Regions from separate parts of the Homo sapiens genome. Here regions 2, 3 and 4 are each linked to region 1. Evidence: promoter capture Hi-C in 16 types of primary human blood cells and fetal thymus (Javierre and others, 2016). All regions are on one chromosome and are shown on one strand. Each heading gives the region's core, a stretch centred on a gene start or on the middle of the fragment in contact. The rest is flanking DNA. Distances are from core to core; before and after follow the strand shown. Region 1 holds the start of ODAPH (odontogenesis associated phosphoprotein). Region 2 overlaps PPEF2 (protein phosphatase with EF-hand domain 2). Region 3 has its middle 50 kb from the start of PPEF2. Region 4 holds the start of LOC105377284 (a long non-coding RNA gene).

Region 1 (4,820 bases), core at 1,693-4,192:
TAAAGTATATGACTAAAAAGATATTTTTACCAAAACTACTGCATTTGAAATAAGCTTTCAGAAATATTTTCATATTTTTAAGGTATGAGGATTTTTGGCAAATGAATCTGATAACTTCACAACAGTTTCATTGATTTTACATGTTGGGAAACACTTGGCTCCACTGTATATATAACATACAAAGACATAAGATATGCCGAGACTTAGTTATTCTATACACTAATAACAAAGAAATGTTGGAATTTTCTGCTGGATAAGAATTTGATAAAATTTTTTTAAATTGTGTTCCTTGGCCAGGCGCGGTGGCACACACCTGTAATCCCAGCATTTTGGGAGGTCGAGGTGGGCAGATCACCTGAGGTCAGGCATTCGAGACCAGCCTAGCCAAAATGGTGAAATCCCGTCTCTACCAAAAATACAAAAAAATTAGCTGGGTGTGGTGGCACACCCTCATGCCTCAGCCTCCTGAGTAGCCCTGTAATCCCAGCTACTCGGGAGGCTGAAGCAAGAGAATTGCTTGAGCCCAGGAAGCAGAGGTTGCCGTGAGCCAAATGGTGCCACTGCACTCCAGCCTGGGCAACAGAATGACACTCCATCTCAAAAGAAAAAAAAATGTATTCCTTTTAAAATTTTGTTCCTTTATTTTATAAACTTCAGAACAACAGATTTGAATGAAAAAATAAGTTATTTTGCTTTTGTTATTTATTTTCATCAACATTTAAGATGAAAGCTCATTAGCACTCCAAAACAAAAAAGAAAGAGAATCAGAAGAAGTAATAGAAATGTCCATCAGTTAAAAGTTTGGTTAAATAAATTACAGTAAATCTATAAAATGAAACACCAGGCAGTGGCTGAAGTGATTATGTGAATCTAATTCTATTGGCATTGTGGTGTATTTACAATGCAGGGGACAAAGTAGCATATGTGATACTGACCCGTTGATGTAAAATTACAGACTGTGTTTGTCTGCTTCGTTCTCCCATAGCCTTCAGTCCTTCCCCTCTCTTAGCACTCAAAACGCTTTATTGTTATTCCTGAGTTAATTTTTAATGTCTCCTAAACTATAAGTTCCATGAGAGCAGGAATCTTATCTTTAGCCCCAGCACCTTGACCAGTGTCTGACACTGAATAAATAAAAGTCAATACAGAATTATTGAATGAATGGGTAGTCTAAGGAACTCAATTTGTCCTGGATGTTTCCTGATTCCTTTTCAAACTGCTGACAAATCATCCATCTGATTATCTGTTCTGGAAGTTTGCCTAGGACTAACATCAAGCCTGAGGAACTTTCCATTTTCTATCTGTGAGTGTTTGCATCCTTATTCATTTAGACTTTCAGTTTGCACAGCCTCTCTTGTTAGATTGTCAGTCCTTCAAAGACAGGGACCATGTTTAGTTTGTTCTTTTTTTTTTTTTTTTTTTTTTTCCATGATACCCAGGAAAATGTTCTGCTTAAAGTGGAGGTCTTTCCAGTGATTAACTGATTTGGCAAGTACAGCCTCCTAAGAGAATAAATTATCAGTTGGGATTATTATAATTTAATGACAATCACAAACACTCCCTTTCACAGGCCAGGCACTGTGGTTGGAGCTGTATGTCAATTATCTCCTTGATATGAAACCAACTAAGTGGCCATCGACCAACGAGTGGATAAAGAAAATGTGGTAGAAATACACCATGGAATACTACTCAGCCATAAAAAAATGAAATAATGTCTTTTGCAGCAACTTGGATGGAGCTGGAGGCCATTATTCCAAGTTAAGTAACTCAGGAATGGAAAACCAAATATCGTATGTTCTCACTTATACGTGGGAGCTGAGCTATGAGGACACAAAGACATACAGAATGATATAATGGACTTTAGAGGCTAGGGGTGGGGGAGGTTGGGAAGGAGGTGAGGGATAAAAGACTACATATTGGGTGCAGTGTACACTGCTCGGGTGACGAGTGCACTAAAATCTCAGAGTTCGCCACCATAGAGTCCATCCATGTAACCCAAAACCACTCGTACCCCAAAAGATTGAAATTTAAAAAAAATTTTTTTTAAAAGCATCTCCTTAATTCACAAATTCCTCTGAGGGTAGTACCACAAGTCCCATTTTACAGGTGAGGCCCCTGAGGCTTCAGCAAGTCTCAGGGACTCACCACAGTCACTCAGCTAGTAAGAAAAGGAACAAAGACTGGAATTTTACCTGACTCCAAGGTCCATGTTCTTAATCACCTGTGACAATCCCCTCTCATATATCCAGCAGCTGATGAAGTCTTTCTCTCAGGAAACCAACTGGACATAGACATGTCATGTCCATTTTATATGCAATATGGTGAATCAGGAGGAGCCGTGAAAGGACGACTCACTAAGTTACTCTCCCAATGTTTATGTTTGTTTAGACAGTGACCATCATGACCACTAGGGAAGATCACTTTCTGATTCTGCTGCCCTCACCTCCTGGACAAAAGCAGAGCAGAGAAGCAGCATAAACCCTGGTTGGGGGCCTAAGAATGATCCCCAACTCTCCACTGCAAACCACCGGGGTCAGGAAGCCTCCGGGTAATGCCCTCTCCCTCTTGTTTCGCTTTTTAAGTAGGTAAGCTGCACAGAGAGAAGCACTGTTGCATATTTCTGGACAGCTTATTTCTCTTGCAGAGGAAGACTGATATACACAACTAAAAGGCACTAACATGGGAGAAGATTTGAGAGATTAGAAGGATGGTGAAGGTGCGGTTGTCCAAAATCCCCCTCTGGGGGGAGATGATTGATATCTGGCTGTCATTCCAAGAAGCTTCTGGTTGACAAATACTGTCTGGTATTTCCTTGCTGATTTCTTACCCTCACACCGCAAGCCCTGATCTCTGTGGTCCACTGTGCAAATGCAAATTACCTGAATCAGGCTGCTGGTGACTCACCAGCTCCCCTTTAAAGCAACATCAGGTTCAACGCAGTGACTGCTCAGTAGAAGCCATGGCTCGCAGACACTGCTTCTCCTACTGGTTACTGGTATGCTGGTTGGTGGTAACTGTGGCAGAAGGTAAGGGTTTTGCTTTTATTCTACTGTGGGTCCACTAATTAATAAGTTGTAGGAAAAGACAAAACTGGCTCCATGATTATACGTTCCCATAAATTGGAAATATTTACCTCAGCTTCCATCAGCCTGTGTGGTTAAAGAGAAGGAAGTTGGATTTTGTCACCTGAAGACCTTGGTCCTCGTCTCAGCAATAGCTCTGTGACTTTAGACACACTTAAAATCTCTGAGTATCAGATTCCTCATATGTGAAGTGACAACATTAACAATATCCATCGTTATGGGGTTTGCAAGGACCAAATGAGCTATCATCTGTGAAAAACTCTTCAAGCTAAAAACACTGTACAAATACTAGTTATTATGGTTACAAAGCTAACAATTCCACTTTGAATTACAGCACTGTCCACTTTCTATCTCCAGCAGCATATTAATTTGCACATGGTGGGTATTTAGTCTTTGTTCATTGCTTTAATTAATCACATCTATTGAGCTGCATTTTGGTGCCACAGAGGTGGGCACAGGTTTCTTTCTTTAGGATTTTATTAGATTCCATTTCTCAACTGTTCCTATTCTCTTTCTTTGTTCCCACTACAAAATGTGTCCTGAGCCTTACAATTGGTTTGCAAACCCCTAGGAAAAGGAAAGAAAAGGCTGGGGAAGGGATGAAAAGAGGGAAATACAAGGGGAGGAAATCTTGGGGAGCCTAGATCTAACCTTTTCTTCAGTTTATTTTAATTCCAAAACTAGATGCTGTTTACGGAAGATGGACCTAGGAGTCAAACAGAGCACTTCACCCCTTTCACATGTCTTGGGTAGGGGGCTTTGCAGGGGCTCAGCCAAACCCTGCTCATCCCCAGACAGATTCCCCGTTCCCATCCCTCAGAGCTCACAATAGACAGGAGGAGGGGAGAGACATAAGAGCTGGTTGTGGAACACTCAGAAACCCCCTGATCCAACCTCTGCACACACTCTGGCAATCAGGGGACAGGGCATAGATTATGAACAAAACCTGCCCCCATATCCCAAGGCAAGGCCCCCAAGCCTCACCTACTAAAAGTGACATCTAAAAGAAGCATCATAAAACAAAACTAGCCACCTGCCACTTTCTCTGCAAAAAGTGAACCGCTCTTCAGGAGGCTTTGTAAACACATAGCTAAACAAGTTATAATGAGATTAGAGATTTATTTTATTCACATCTTAAAAACACCCACTGAGGCTGGGTACAGTGGCTCACACCTGTAATCCCAGCATTTTGGGAGGCCGAGGTGGGCAGATCACCTGAGGTCGGGAGTTCAAAACCAGCCTGACCAACATGGAGAAACCCCATCTCTACAAAAAATACAAAATTAGCCAGGTGTGGTGGTGCATGCCTGTAATCCCAGCTACTCGGGAGGCTGAGGCAGGAGAATCGCTTGAACCCAGGAGGTGGAGGTTGCCATGAGCCAAGATCGTGCCATTGCACTCCAGCCTGGGGAACAAGAGTGAAACTCTGTCTCAAAAAACAAAACACCCATTGAAACACCAGATTTGATTTCCGAATTTGGCTCACTTTTCCCTACAATCCCTCGAAGTCCTTCAAATGTAGCTTCATTCTATCCCAGCAGCCCCTGCTTCCAGTTCATCGCTCGTTCACACACACCCTGGGTCTGCCCGACAAGGTCATGTGTGGATCTCCATACTCATCCTCTTCTCACTGATGCACGGCAGCAACCACAGCTGCTCCCTCCACTTGCTTTCACCTCTGTTTGTTGCAGTTCCGCTTTAAGGCACAACATTTAAATGCCACTATGATTTTGCCTT
Region 2 (4,820 bases), core at 1,596-4,095, 310 kb after region 1:
AGAGCTCAGTTTTCGAGGGAGAGCGCCTTTACTCTTCCCTGTTGTACACAAACAGGATGAGTATGGGGAATGCCGCTGTCCTTCCTGGTATGGGACAGTGGTTAGAGAAGAAGTTCTGGAGAAGGATCACCTCTGTGGTAAAGTTATCTAATCATCCTTTGCTTCAGTTTTCCCACCTGTAAAACAGTGATTAAAATGGTACCTGTCTCCACTTCACAGGATTATTGTGAAGATTACAATGAGTAATTTCATGTACAGCACTTAGAAGAAAGCCTGGCACATAGAAAGCACTCACCAAATAGTATCTATTATCACAACTGTTGTGCATTTCTTGTAATTTATTATCATGTGAAACAGAAGGCAAAATTTATGAATAACAAAATAACACTAGTTTAGTTTTTTCATTCTTATTGGGTCAATAGAGTAATGCTGGGCACAGTACTTGGCCCAAAGTAAGTGCTCAATAAATATCTGTAGTTGAATGAACAAGAATATAAAAAGAGGCTTGGCGTGGTGGCTCATGCCTGTAATCCCAGCACTCTGGGAGGCCAAGGTGGGTGGATTCCTTGAGCCCAGGAGTTCGAGACCAGCCTTGGCAACATGGCAAAACCCCCCTCTCTACTCAAAGTACAAAAAAAAAATTAGCCAGGCGTGGTGGCGTGTCCCTGTAGTCCCAGATGCTTGTGGGGCTGAGGTGGGAGGATCACTTGAACCCAGGAGGTAGAGGCTGCAGTGAGCCAAGATCACACCACTGCACTCCAGCCTGGGTGAAAAAGTAAGACCCTGTCTCAAAAAAAAAAAAAAAAAGAATATAAAAAGAGATAAAAGGTAAGCATACGTTACTTGTAATGTCTTATTGAGGAACCAATCATTCTATAAATAATGACCAGATAACCTATCTTTTCCCGTGTTAAAAGTTAAAAAAAATTAAATCATGTTTGATGAAAATCTTACTGCAATTGAAGGCATTTAACATGACAGTCTTTAAGTGGGCTACATAGATCCTTAGAAGAGTGTGAACCTAGCCTGGCATGGTGGCACGTGCCTATGGTCCCAGCTACTTGGGAAGCTAAGGTGGGGAAATCACCTGAGCCTGGGAGGTCGAGGCTGCAGTGAGCCAAGATCATGCCACTGCACTCCAGCCTGGACAACCAGAATGAGACCCTGTCTCAAAAAACACAAAAAACTGTGAACCAGTTAGGCATGGTGGCTCATGCCTATAATCCCAGCACTTTGGGAGGCTGAAGCGGGAGGATCACTTGAGGCCAGGAGCTCAAGACCACCCTGGGCAACACAGCTAGGCTGGGTTTCTTTACAAAAAAAACTTTTAAAAATTAGCCAGGCATGGTGGTGCATGCCTGTAATCTCAGTTACTTGGGAGACTATGGCAGGAGGATTGCTTGAGCCCAGGAGTTCGAGGTTACAGTAAGCTATCTATGATCATGCTACTATACCCTGGCCTTGGTGACAGAGCAAGGCCCTGTCTCTACAAAAGGAAAAGAAAGTGTGAACCACCTAAAACTCACCCCAAATTTCACAGGTATGTGAGCATATGTGAATTTTTTGTAGACAGTTTGTTGTTTTATCAGAGGCTAACAGAAGTATGGGACTCCTAAAAAGTTTAAGAACCACTAGTTAGACAAAGCATTTAAGCTGCTCCTGGTAATCTGTAGTCATGGAGAGTTATGCAGGGATGGAGTAGGGCAATGCCCTTGAAAGCTATCTGGATGTACAAGGCTTTCCTGTCCCTACGTCAAGTAACACTTAGTAAGCACTTACTAAATGCAGAGCTCTACATGGATTATCTCATTAAATCCCTCAACACTCATTGAAGAAAGAACGATAACATGAAGTCCATTATGCCCATTACAGACAGAGATAGTAATTAGGTCGAGGTCACATAGCTACCAAGGAGTGAGGCCAGATACCTATCTGGCTATGCTGGCTCCAAGCTGGCTCTCTATTATTGTGAGAAGTGGATTGAAACAAAAAGTAAATGGACTCTGACTGAGGATTCCTCTAAGAAGAGCATGTTATCAGGCCAGGCATGGTGGCTCGCACCTGTAATCCTAGCACTTTGGGAGGCCAAGGCAGGAGGATCACTTGAGCTCAGGAGTTTGAGACCAGCCTGGGCAGAATAGTGAGACTTCGTCTCTACAAAAAATTTAAAAAATTAGCTGGGCATGATGGCGCACGCCTGTAGTACCAGGTGTGAGGTAGCTGAAGTGGGAGGATCTCTTAAGACTAGCAGGTCGAGGCTGCAGTGATCTGTCATCCTGCCACTGTACTACAGCCTGGGTGACACAGCGAGACCCTGTCTCACAAAAAGAAAAAAAAAAAGAAAAAAGAAAAACAAGGATGTTATCTTCGGTTTATGGACATTGAGACATCATCAATTATGGCTGCTCAGAGACATTTCCCTCCTTTTTTCTAAGTTCTCCATTATGCTTCATACAGTTGAAGTCACTGGATAAGTGATTTCTGGGTAAATCAGGTGATGTTGTACTTATTTAATGCAATCAATGAAGGTTTCAAAGAGTTGAATGCTTTTTGACTATCTTATTGAAACACACTATTCACTGTAGGGAATCCTACATTACTATTACATTACTACATTACTATTACTACTGTAGGGAATCCTAGAGTGACTCTTTTTGCAGTGACAACCCCTAAATCCTATGGGATCATAGTTCTGCACTCCAGGTACCAGGGCTCACCCCTGGAGATTCTAATTTGGTAGGGCTGGATGAGGCTCAAATGGCTGATTTTTTATAAAGCTCCAAGATGATTTTGCTGCACAGTAGGTCTGACATTCACTTGGTAGGTTTATATTTTTACATAATTCTTCTTTTTAAGTGAGGCTGGCCTATATTTAATAACTTGAGAATGATTTAAAATAATGCACTTTTACAGCACTCACACAAGGGTAAATGCTAAATACTAACATGTTCTCTATCCACCTGATTTATGCTAGTTTTGCCGATCTTAATTTCTAACTCTGTTAGGCTGAATACTTAAAGAAGCATGTTCAATAGCACTAAAACTGTATCTGTTAGCATCTTATATACTCTGAGGCCATCTTCGTTGTAGGAGGCAATATTGCATAGACATTAAAAGTGTGGGTTCTGAAATAGAATTGCCTCGGTCAAGGACTACCTTCACTCAAGGACTAGCTGTGTGACCACAGGTCAGATGATTTAACATCGGTTCTTTAATAATCTCTTCTACAAAACTGAAATTAATAACAATATCTGTTGCATAAATTTACTGTGAGGCTACCCATATAAATTCTTTATAACATTTTGTGGTTGTAATCTCTCAACTAAGAACTCAGAATCATCTCAAAAGCTACCATTTATTTATTTATTTATTTATTTATTTTTATTTTACTTTATTTTATTTTATTTTTGAGATGGAGGCTTGCTCTGTCGCCCAGGCTGGAGTGCAGTGGTGCGATCTCGGGTCACTGCAACCTCCAACCTCCTGGGTTCCAGCAATTCTCCTGCCTCAGCTTCCCGTGTAGCTGGGATTACAGGCGTGTACCACCACGCCTGGCTAATTTTTTTGTATTTTTAGTAGAGACAGGGTTTCACCATGTTGGCCAGGCCAGTCTCAAACTCCTGACCTCCAATCATCCACCCGCCTCAGCCTCCCAAAGTGCTGGGATTACAGGCGTGAGCCACCGCGCCCGGCCAAAATCTACCATTCGAGTAGTATTATATGCTTCCTTCCAGAAAGAAACGGGCCTCATTAACAAATCTGTGCACTGAATTTCACCTGCAAAATCTCCAGACAGTGAAAGAACCTCTGGCTGTGGCTTGTAGGGGTAACACAAACCCGTTAAAGATGAGAGAAAATAGAAGAGTAACCTCAGAAAGACTTAGTGGTTTAGTAAGCAGACTTTACCCAAGACGCAGCCATGGAGAATAATTTCTTCTTCTTCTTTTTGTTTTTCTTGTTTTTTTGAGACAGCCTTGCTCTGTCACCCAGGCTGGAGGGCAGTGGCACAATCTTGGCTCACTGCAAACTCTACCTCCCAAGCTCAAGCCATCCTCCCACCTCAGCCTCCCAAGTAGCTGGGACTACAAGAGTACGCCACCACATCAGGCTAATTTTTGAATTTTTTGTAGAGATGGGGTTTTGCCATGTTGCCCAGGCTGGTCTGGAATTCCTGGGCTCAAACTATCCTTCTGCCTTAGTCTGCCAGACTGCTGGGATTACAGGCATGAGCCACTGTGCCCCACTGAGAATAATTTCTGCAGAAAACAAATTTGTTGCTCCCATTAATGATGGGTAGATAGAGCTATTAGGAGTGTGTGGAGGAGAAGGAAGAGACTCCTACTCTAATGTCTATTGTATTAATAGAACTTCATGCTGACATAGCCAAATTCTGAATTCTCACGTAGAATTTGAATAAATATAACGTTTGACACTTCATTCAAAGATTCTATGAACACTATAATTTTTTTTTCTGAAAATCACTCATTGAAAAGTCTTGCCTTTGCCTCATGGTGAGTGTGTGGGTCACCTTGTTAGCTTGATACTGCACAATATGTGGGGTCAGGGCTGGCCCCAGTTTGACATAGGCCCCTCTGTTGCTGCCAACTTCATAGTAGTTGGAGGCAGAAAAGATTGTTAATACCTACATCAAAACAGAAGAGAGACAGGTGTTCACATTCACTGAAGAAACCTTCACCCTCAATCCTATGTGGCCCAACTCAACTGCAGAAGCTGCTGTTTCTCCTAGTGCTCATCTGGGAATCCTTTTCTTTCTTTCTTTCTTTCTTTTTTTCTAAAGGCATCAATGCTAATAGGGCAAG
Region 3 (4,820 bases), core at 1,381-3,880, 300 kb after region 1:
GTTTTGAGACTGCACATATGGCACAGGCTGGGTCACAGAGTTTGTACTTTATCTGCAAGACAAAGAGATTTTCAAACTCTAGATAATTTTATTTTAAAAGAAAACACGGCCGGGCTCAGTGGCTTACGCCTGTAATCCCAGCACTTTTGGAGGCTGAGGTGGGCGGATCGCTTGAGGTCTGGAGTTCGAGACCAGCCACAACATAGCGAAACCCTGTCTCTACTAAAAATACTAAAATTAGCCAGGTGTGATGGCACACGCCTGTAATCTCAGCTACTCAGGAGGCTGAGGCAGGAGAATCGCTTGAACCCGGGAGGCGGAGGTTGCAGTGAGCTGAGATCACACCACTGCACTCCAGCCTGGGAAACAGATTGAGACTCCGTCCTCCGTCTCAAAAAAAAAAAAAAAAAAAAAAAAAAAAAAAAAAGATAGTATTACCTCAATACTGTAATAGAGAAATCAATATCATTTGCCATAAATAGAACCATAAAAATTAATTTACAGAACAGAAAAAAAAAACCAAGTGTGTTTAAAACAGTTCAAAAATTAAAATGAAATCTAGGCCGGGTGCAGTGGCTCACGCCTGTAATCCCTGCACTCTGGGAGGCCGAGGTGGGCGGATCACCTGAGGTGAGGAGTTCGAGACCAGTCTGGCCAACATGGTGAAACTCCATCTCTACTAAAAATACAAAAATTAGCCAGGCGTGGTGGCAGGCGCCTGTAATCCCAGCTACTCGGGAGCTCTGAACCCGGGAGGCGGAGGCTGCAGTAAGCCGAGTTTGCACCATTGCACTCCAGCCTGGGGGACAAGAGCGAGACTTTGTCTTTAAAAAAAGAGTTAAAAAAATTAAAATGAAATCTAATAACTAATCTGTTTACAAAAAAATCATGTCTAAAATTATCTTCATCTGTGAGAAAAATAAACCAGTTTATGATCAATCAATAGTAATAAAGAGATTCAGCTCTGTATCATTTAGTTTAAGACTAAGATGAGGGTTATGTCAATGACAATTCTGTGTCTTTTTGTGTATGTTAATCAGCATCTCCCCCACCCATCCCCCCACGCCCCCAGAAATCTCGACACACTGATGTAGGTAGGTAGAGCTTCCCCCTGCTCCTGAAAAGCAGAGTCGCAGAAGCTCAGGGTGGCCACTGTAGCTCAGATAACCTAGATCCTACAGCCAGGAACTGAAATCCAAATCTTCTGACTCCACATTCTTATACCAGGCCGATGCCTGGTATAAAAGTTAACAGAAAAAAACCTTTCTAATTCATATATCTCTCCACATACAGAACTAGGCTGCCTGTAGGAGCAGTGACCTCTACCCTGGAGCATTTCCACAAAGCCTGGAGGACACGTGTATCTTTCGAGGTTTTTCTCCAGAGAAATGCTTTAGAGGTTGTACTTAATATCTGAAATTCCTTATAATTCTTAACAGTCTCTGAGTCTGTGACTGAGAAATATTTCAAGACACTAACACAGGGATTAAAAACTTTATCCCTTTGTTTTAATAATTAAAATGCAGACTAAAGGAGGTTTTGAGTTCTATAGAAATAAACACTCAAATTTAAAATAATGGTCTTTATGGCTGAACACAGTAGCTCATGCCTGTAATCCCAGCACTTTGGGAGGCTGAGGCGGGTAGATCACCTGACGTTAGGAATTCGAGACCGGCCTGACCAACATGGTGAAACCCCATCCCTACTAAAAGTACAAATAAAGTAGCTGGGTGTGGTGGTGGGTGCCTGTAATCTCAGCTACTCAGGAAGCTGAGGCAGGAGAATCGCTTGAACCCGGGAGGCAGAGGTTGCAGTGAGCTGAGACTGTGCCATTGCACTCCAGCCTGGGCGACAGAGCAAAACTCTATCTCAAATAAATAAGTAAACAAAATAAAATAATGGTCTTTAGAGATTTATGAAACCCTAATTATGTCTGCATGTGAGTTCTATGTCCAGCATTAGTAATAATTGTTTTTTTAAAAAAACAAAACAAGGCCGGGCACGGTGGCTCACAGCTGTAATCCCAGCACTTTGGGAGGCCAAGGCGGGTGGATCACCTGAGGTTGGGAGTTCGAGACCAGCCTGACCAACATGGAGAAACCCCATCTCTATTAAAAATACAAAATTAGCTGGGCATGGTGACACATGCCTGTAAACCCAATTACTCAGGAGGCTGAGGCAGGAGGGAGAATCGCTTGAATCCGGGAGGTGGAGGTTGCAGTGAGCCAAGATCGGGCCATTGCACTCCAGCCTGGGCAAAAAGAGCGAAAACTGTCTCAATAAATAAATAAATAAATAAATAACCAAAACCTAAAACACTTATTTACAACTTGAAGACATGTCAAAAATGCTAAAACAGAGAAATTCTTTTATGACTATTAGCATTTTCTCAGAAAAGATCGTTTCTGGGAAGTATGAGCCCTTCCTGAAATTATCCTTCTATTTTGATTAATACAACTAAACTTTAATTCCTTGGATTGTCAATGTTTTGAGTTATCTACTGCTACATAACAAATACCTCAAAAGTTAGTGGTTTAAAACAACAATAACCACCTATGATATTTCACAATTCTGTGAGTTAACTGGGGTGATTCTTCTGCTCCATGTGTTATCAGCTGGCCTCCCAAAGTGCCAGACATGAGCCACTATGCCTTGCCATTCTCAGTTTTAATTTCTAATACAGTAAATATCAATAGATATAAGCCACATCAGCAAAAGTTCTTTGGGATCGTCAGTACTTTTTGGGAGTATAAAAGGATCCTGAGATGAAAACATTTGAGAAGCCCTTCAATAGAGGCAAAAGAAGAATTGGGGACACGTGAGAAATAGTATGGACTAATAAATAACTGGACTAATGATTTTAAGGTGGTAGCAATGGGGAGTAAAAACGGCTCAATTTTAGATGTGTTTTGAAGGGAAAGTCAACAAGATCGATCAGATGTGGGAAATGAGGAGAGAAGTCAAGTATTATTCCAAGGGTTTTGTTTTAGTTTTTGCTTTGTCTTTCACCTGAGTGAACTGGTAGGATGGCATTGATATTTAATTAGAAAAGACCAGGGAAGAAGAGATGTAGGGGAAATATAGTGAACTTATTTGGAGAATGTTGAGTTTGAGATGTTCATTAAATATTTAAGTGTTAGGGGAGTTGTCTCGGGTGGAGATATAACCTTCAGAGTCTTAACCATATGGATTGCATTTAAAACAATGAGACTGAATGAGATCGGCCGGGTGTGTTGGCTCATGCCTGTCATCCCAGCACTTTGGGAGGCCGAGGTGGGCGGATCACGAGGTCAGCAGATCGAGACCATCGTGGCTAACACGGTGAAACCCCGTCTCTACTAAAAATACAAAAAATTAGCTAGGCGTGGTGACGGTCACCTGTAATCCCAGCTACTCGGGAGGCTGAGGCAGGAGAATGGCTTGAACCCGGGAGGCGGAGCCTGCAATGAGCCGAGATTGCGCCACTGCACTCCAGCCTGGGCGACAGAGCGAGACTCAGTCTCAAAAAAAAAAAAGAGACTGGATGAGATCAACAAAGGAGTGAATGAAGATAGAAGAAAAAAGAGGTTGAAAAACAGCCTGGCAGGGCGCGGTGGCTCACGCCTGTAATTCCAGCACTTTGGGAGGCCAAGGTCGGTGGATCATCTGAGGTCGGGAGTTCAAGACTAGCCTAGTCAACATGGTGAAACCCTCGTCTCTACTAAAAATACAAAAATTAGCCGGGCACAGTGGCACGCATCTGTAATCCCAGCTACTCAGGAGGCTGAGGCAGGAGAATCGCTTGAAGCTGGGAGGCGGAAGTTGCAGTGAGCTGAGACTGAGAAAGCTGTCAGGTAGTTAAAAAAAAAAAAAAGGAGAGAATGGTAATTTGAACTGTCAAATGCTACTGATAGGTCAAGTAAGATAAAGACAAATAGATCATTGGTATCTGAGGGACTGTGTGCCAGAGAGGGGAATAATGTGAGCAAAAAGCCCAAATCAGGAGCAGTGTGTTGTGCTAGAGCATAAGGGGCAGGGATGAGATGGGAGCGCAGGCAGGAGTCAGCTTGTGAAGGGCCTGGCATTCCATATTAAAGACTTAGACTTTATGCTGTGGGTTTGGGGAAGCCACTTAGAGGATTTAGGCTGAAAAGTGACACAGTCCAATTTGCATTTTAGATAGATCATTCTGGATGCTTGGGAAGGGTGGGGAGGATAGAGGATGGGACTGAGCCAAACCGAGCAAGGGGCTCAAGGAAGTGGAGGCTGTAATAGGAGAGGGCCAGAGACAGTGAAGGTGTGCATTTCAGCCATGGATGTGGGGATGGAGAAGAGAGAGTTGATCAGGAATATTTAGGAAGCAGAATTCTCAAAATTTGGAAACCGTTGCGACTGGGGGAGTGAGAGAGGTAGAGGAATTAAGCCTGGGTAACAGACTGCATAGAAAGTGGGGTACCAACCTGAAATACAGAAATTAGGAGCCAAAACAGTTTGGGGGTGAAGAGATTGTCACATTTGAACATGTTATATTTGAGATGTTCATGAGAGATGTAGGTGGAGATGTCTAGAAAGCAGTTGGGTATTCAGGCGTAAAAACCAAGGGAGAAGATCTTTAGAGTGGTACTAATGTAAAGTCTCAACTGGTTTATATGTCCCAGCTTTCTAAAGAAAAACTAATTTTAGTAAATTTCCAGTTTAAAAAATTAATAATTCTTGGAGAACTTTGTATGTTTTAATCTGTTTTCATCAAGAGTTCTTGGGTCTGTTAATATAATTTGAGGGTATTTAGCAGTTTAGTCATCTAAATCTGAAAACGTTTGGTTTCTGAATTGACTTCTCAT
Region 4 (4,820 bases), core at 778-3,277, 270 kb after region 1:
AAGGTGGAGAATATGGATTAAAAAGGAAATTGATGGGTCTGTGGTGGTGGGAATGTGTCAAAATTTTATCTCATTGCTTCCATTTTCTAATTTAAACAGGAAGCAAGATACCCATTGAAAGTAAGAACTGGGGAAGAAATTTGATGAAAGTGGAGATATTATAAAGATAGATGTCTTAGAGTGGAGTGTGGGAAACTGAATGGGCCAGGAAAATGTAGTTCCAAGCATCAACTTCAGACACAAAAATGTCCAGAGGAGTGAGACTTTATTGTCTGTGTCTCTTTTTGAGGGCCTGGAAATCTTTTCTTGAAGCTTCCAGCCGACTGCCTATCAGTAAGGGTTAACATCTCTGAACATGTTTAGGTCTACCTGGGAAGGTGACCTTGGGTCTGCCTTCTCACAGCACTGTTCCCTTGGCAACTACCAAGTTAAGCTAGTTGAGGAATGCTTTGTGCTAGGAACTGACTACCTGCCTTGTTTGCTGTGAAATCCCCTATCTGTGGATCTCCACGTGAACTGGGAGAGCTATGAGTTGGCACCCAGACAGACAACTGATGAGAGACCTACCAAGTGAAGCCGGGCACTTCAATCTTCCTCAGGAGCTATACACACCCTAGAAAGGTGATGGAGGCCAAGAAAATGTATACATAGTAGTCTCTGAGCCTCCAGACGACATGAAGATACTATGCACTCCGTATTCCTGTATTGTATCACTCTATAAAGTTAACAAATGAAGTATTAGAATGAAGTCTGTTATATCATATGAGTTTTACTGGCAACCAAAACCTGTGACTGGTGCTGATAGGGACAGAATTGTATTTGAAGCAGGATTGGCATTCAGATCCTCAATTTGCATCTTCCTGTTTTATGGTCATAATTGGCTCACAGACCCATTTACTGGCAAACCTATTACTGTCAAAGGGAATGAAACCACCATGATTGCCTTGACTAATTGCAGTTAGTCACTCACGTTCCTGGTGTGTAGTAGGTGAGTGGGCAGCACCTCTTAAAGCACACTTCTCGGGGTGGGTGATAGATACATAAACAAAACAAGGGTTATGTTAGGAAGAAGGAAACCTAAACCCTTGCTCCTACACTTTTAAATTTCTGAGCGAATTACAAAACCTCTAAGAATCTTAGTTTCTTCCTGGAGCTAATTATACCTACCTAATAGGGTTATTGTGAAGATTAAAATTATTGAATTTCTTTTTTCTTTTTTGAGACAGAAGCTCTGTTGCCCAGGCTGGAGTGCAGTGGCACGATCTCGGCTCACTGCAAGCTCCGCCTCCCAGGTTCACGCCATTCTCCTGCTTCAGCCTCCCGAGTAGCTGGGACTACAGGCGCCGGCCACCACGCCTGGCTAATTTTTTGTATTTTTAGTAGAGATGGGGTTTCACCATGTTAACCAGGATGGTTTCGATCTCCTGACCTCGTGATCTGCCCGCCTCAGCCTCCCAAAGTGCTGGGATTACAGGCGTGAGCCACCACGTCTGGCCTAAGAGTGGGTTTCACCATGTTGGCCAGGTTGGTCTCGAACTCCTGACCTCAAGTGATCCACCTGCCTCAGCCTCCCGAAGGGCTGGGATTACAGGCATGAGCCACCACGCCCAGCCTTAAACTTTTAATACACACATAAAAGTCTGCTTAGGCTGAGTTATGCTGTAGAAACAAACAAGTCTTAAATTTCAGTGGCTTACCCAAAGGTACTTCTTGTACACATTCATATCTTTGGCATGCCAGCTGTGGCTCTGCTCCAAATCTTCATTTCAAGACCAACACTGAAGAAGCAGCTTCTGGCTGGGTATAGTGCCTCGTGCCTGTAATCCCAGCACTTTGGGAAGGTGAGGCAGGTGTATCGCTTGAGCCCAGGAATTGGAGACCAGCCTGGCCAACATGGCAAAACCCCCATCTCTACAAAAAAAAAATACAAAAATTAGCCAGGAGTGGTGGCACATGCCGATAGTCCCAGCTACTCAGGAGGCTAAGGTGGGAGGATCGCTTGGGACCAGGAGGCAGAGATTGCAATGAGCAGAGATCGTGCCGTTACATTCCAGCCTGGGCAACAGAGTGAAACCCTGTCTCAAAAAAAAGCAGCAACTTCTCTCTGGGAAAGGCAGGTCTTGTGACAGAGGCAAACGAGAGATGGCAGAATCTCACAGTGGCATTTATAACTTCTGCTTTGAAGTGGCAACATTTCCATTCACATGTCATTGGCCAAAGCAAGTCATGTCCAAACTAATATCAATGCAAAGCATAATCCCATAAGGACACATCTGATATAGAGGGGCAGTGAAAATGTCAACAATAATATAATCTATGAGAGGATACAGAAGCATAACCAGTAAATGTTAGTGTCCTTCCCTTTCCTCTTTTCCCTTACTGGTTCCCCCTGAGAAACACAAGTGTACAGCATGGAGAGGCTGTGTGATGTCATAATTAAGAGTGTAGATTCTGAGAACAGACTGCCTGAGTTCAAATCCTTACTCTGCCATTTTCCAGCTGTGTGGCTTTGGGCAAGTTATTTAACCTCTCTGTGCCTCAACTTCTTCATGTAAACTGGCAGTAATAATAATACGAATGCCACAGAGCTGTGGATGAAATGAGCCCATGTAAGTAAAGTGCATAGTACATGGTAAGCCCTATATGAAAGTGTTAACTTTGTTATTGCTCCTGTCATTATTGAAGGAAACCTGGTGGGAAGTCAAAAGACCTAATATAAAATCTCAGCATTATAATTCTTTTTTTTTTTTTTTAAGATGGAGTCTTGCTCTGTCGCCCAGGCTGAAGTGCAATGGCGTGATCTAGGCTCACTGCAACCTCCTGCTGGGTTCCAGCGATTCTCCTGCCTCAGCCTCCAGAGTAGCTGGGATTACAGGTGCGCGCCACCATGCCCAGCTAATTTTTTTTGTATTTTTAGTAGAGATGGGATTTCACCATGTTGGTCAGGCTGGTCTCGAGCTCCTGACCTTGTGATCCGCCCACCTTGGCCTCCCAAAGTGCTGGGATTACAGGCGTGAGCCAGCGTGCCCGGCTGCATTATAATTCTAATAGTGACTTTGAGCAAGTTACATAATTTCTGCAAACCGCTTATTCCTTCGTCTGTAAAATTAGAATAACACTCATTTCTGGAGAGGCCACTTAGGACAATGGTTAAAAGTATGGACTGTGGAGCTGGAATACCTTGGATCAAATTCCAACTCCACCACTTTCAAACTGTGTGACTTTGGGCAAATTACTTCAATTTTATTATCCATAACACAGGGACAATCATCATACCTTACCTTCACAGGAATAGTATGAGAATTAAGTGGATTAACAGTTGACATGCAACATTGTTAGAATAGTGCCTGGTGCTTAACAAAGGTTCATTAACTGTTTGGCACATAGAGGAAGTGCTTCATAAGTGTTAACTATTCTCACAGGCTATGAGGGGATTGGCTGTATGAACAGGCATGAAAATGCTTTATGAAAAGCAGTGGTCAAACACGGAGACTCAGGAATCTGCAGTATAGAAGTCTATGGCTATGTCGTTAGGCTTAACCAGGCTTAGCATGTCCAGCCAGTGGCAAGCACTTTCTTCTGGAAGCCTGTCTGGTGCAGAGGGACCTCCTTAACTGTTTCCTTTCATGGGGATGGGCCCTGGCTGCTGTGCTTGTACCTTATAACTTGTAGAAGCAAAAGCTGATACTTCACCCTGTTTCCAACATGATTGAGCACTTTACAAATCAAATTCAGGACAAACAAAGCTTTGCACCCTGAGATAAACCAAAACCACCCCGACTAGTTCTGATCTCTAAAATAAGAAAACCTTGACTTATTTCTTGTAAAACTAAACTCCCTAACCAAAATAATTTTACCTCTGATTTTTGCTAAGGAATGTCTGAAGACACATCATAACCTTTGTGACAATGCTAATCATGTGGGAATGGTGCTGTTTCCCCACCACAAGCTGGCCAATGTAACTATTATAATCTTGGTAACTTTGAGGGGTTTTTTTTCCTTTAAATGTTTGTTTGGGGCCGGTCATGGTGACTCATGCCTGTAATCCCAGCACTTTGGGAGGCCAAGGCAGGTTGATCACTTGAGGTCAGGAGTTCAAGACCAGCCTGGCCAACATGGCAAAACCCTGTCTCTACTAACAGTACAAAAATTAGCCGGGTGTGGTGGGGCATGCCTGTAGTCTCAGCTACTTAGGAGGCTGAAGCAAGAGGATTGCTTGAGCCCAGGATTTTGAGGTTACAGTGAGCCATGGTCATGTCACTGCACTCCAGCCTGGAAAACAGTGTGAGACGTTGTCAAAAAAATATATATCTATATATAGATATATATAATATATATATCTATATATAGATATATATAATATATATATCTATATATATAATATATAACATATATTATATATATAATATATAACATATCTATATATAATATATATATCAATATATAATATATATCTATATATATTATATATATTTATATATACACACATATATATAATATATACATATACAATATATGTTTTTGTTTTCTAATTTGAAAAGTCTGTTTTTCCAAAGTCTAACTCCCTCTTTCTTTGTAAGTAAACTCTGTCTTTTGTTTTCTAAAATGTTTCTATCTTGGCTATAGTTGACTAGACGAGGGAAATTCATATCTGTATTCTTTTTCAGTCCGGTCTGGCTTCTTTAACCAGGAAGATGTGGGCTGAGAGCTGTGGAGTAGATGTCTTCACCAGATGAGTACACAGAGAAGTAGAGAATGTGTATCTGCAGAGTAGGATGAAGCAGAGACAAGGTGGGATGGGAGAGAGACAGGGGCTGCAG

Evidence for each region. Contacts are between HindIII fragments. The CHiCAGO score rates a contact against its expected background, and 5 or more counts as called.
Region 2: a fragment that was not itself captured here is called in contact with the fragment with the promoter of ODAPH in region 1 in 8 of 17 cell types (activated CD4 T cells, non-activated CD4 T cells, naive CD8 T cells and 5 more); the score reaches 9.5 in activated CD4 T cells.
Region 3: a contact is called between a fragment that was not itself captured here and the fragment with the promoter of ODAPH in region 1, in 8 of 17 cell types (fetal thymus, naive CD4 T cells, activated CD4 T cells and 5 more). The highest score is 8.1, in fetal thymus.
Region 4: a contact is called between a fragment that was not itself captured here and the fragment with the promoter of ODAPH in region 1, in 6 of 17 cell types (naive CD8 T cells, activated CD4 T cells, naive CD4 T cells and 3 more). The highest score is 7.2, in naive CD8 T cells.

The regions. Positions count from the first base shown.
Region 1 is chr4:75,553,124-75,557,943 of GRCh38, forward strand. It overlaps ODAPH (odontogenesis associated phosphoprotein), which reads left to right and starts at 2,943. Exons shown (of 2, transcript NM_178497.5): 1 at 2,943-3,026. The coding sequence starts at 2,960. RefSeq lists a silencer at 2,676-2,970. The HindIII fragment of the contact is 3,725 bases long and covers 2,779-4,820 here.
Region 2 is chr4:75,867,526-75,872,345 of GRCh38, forward strand. PPEF2 (protein phosphatase with EF-hand domain 2) reads right to left here. Exons shown (of 17, transcript NM_006239.3): 13 at 4,500-4,642. Among named protein-coding and RNA genes, the nearest start is that of PPEF2, 33 kb to the right of the region's middle. The HindIII fragment of the contact is 6,486 bases long and covers 1-4,820 here.
Region 3 is chr4:75,849,859-75,854,678 of GRCh38, forward strand. No RefSeq gene overlaps it. Among named protein-coding and RNA genes, the nearest start is that of PPEF2, 50 kb to the right of the region's middle. The HindIII fragment of the contact is 9,603 bases long and covers 1-4,820 here.
Region 4 is chr4:75,820,472-75,825,291 of GRCh38, forward strand. It overlaps LOC105377284 (a long non-coding RNA gene), which reads left to right and starts at 2,046. Exons shown (of 5, transcript XR_938891.2): 1 at 2,046-2,609; 2 at 4,668-4,791. The HindIII fragment of the contact is 3,434 bases long and covers 311-3,744 here.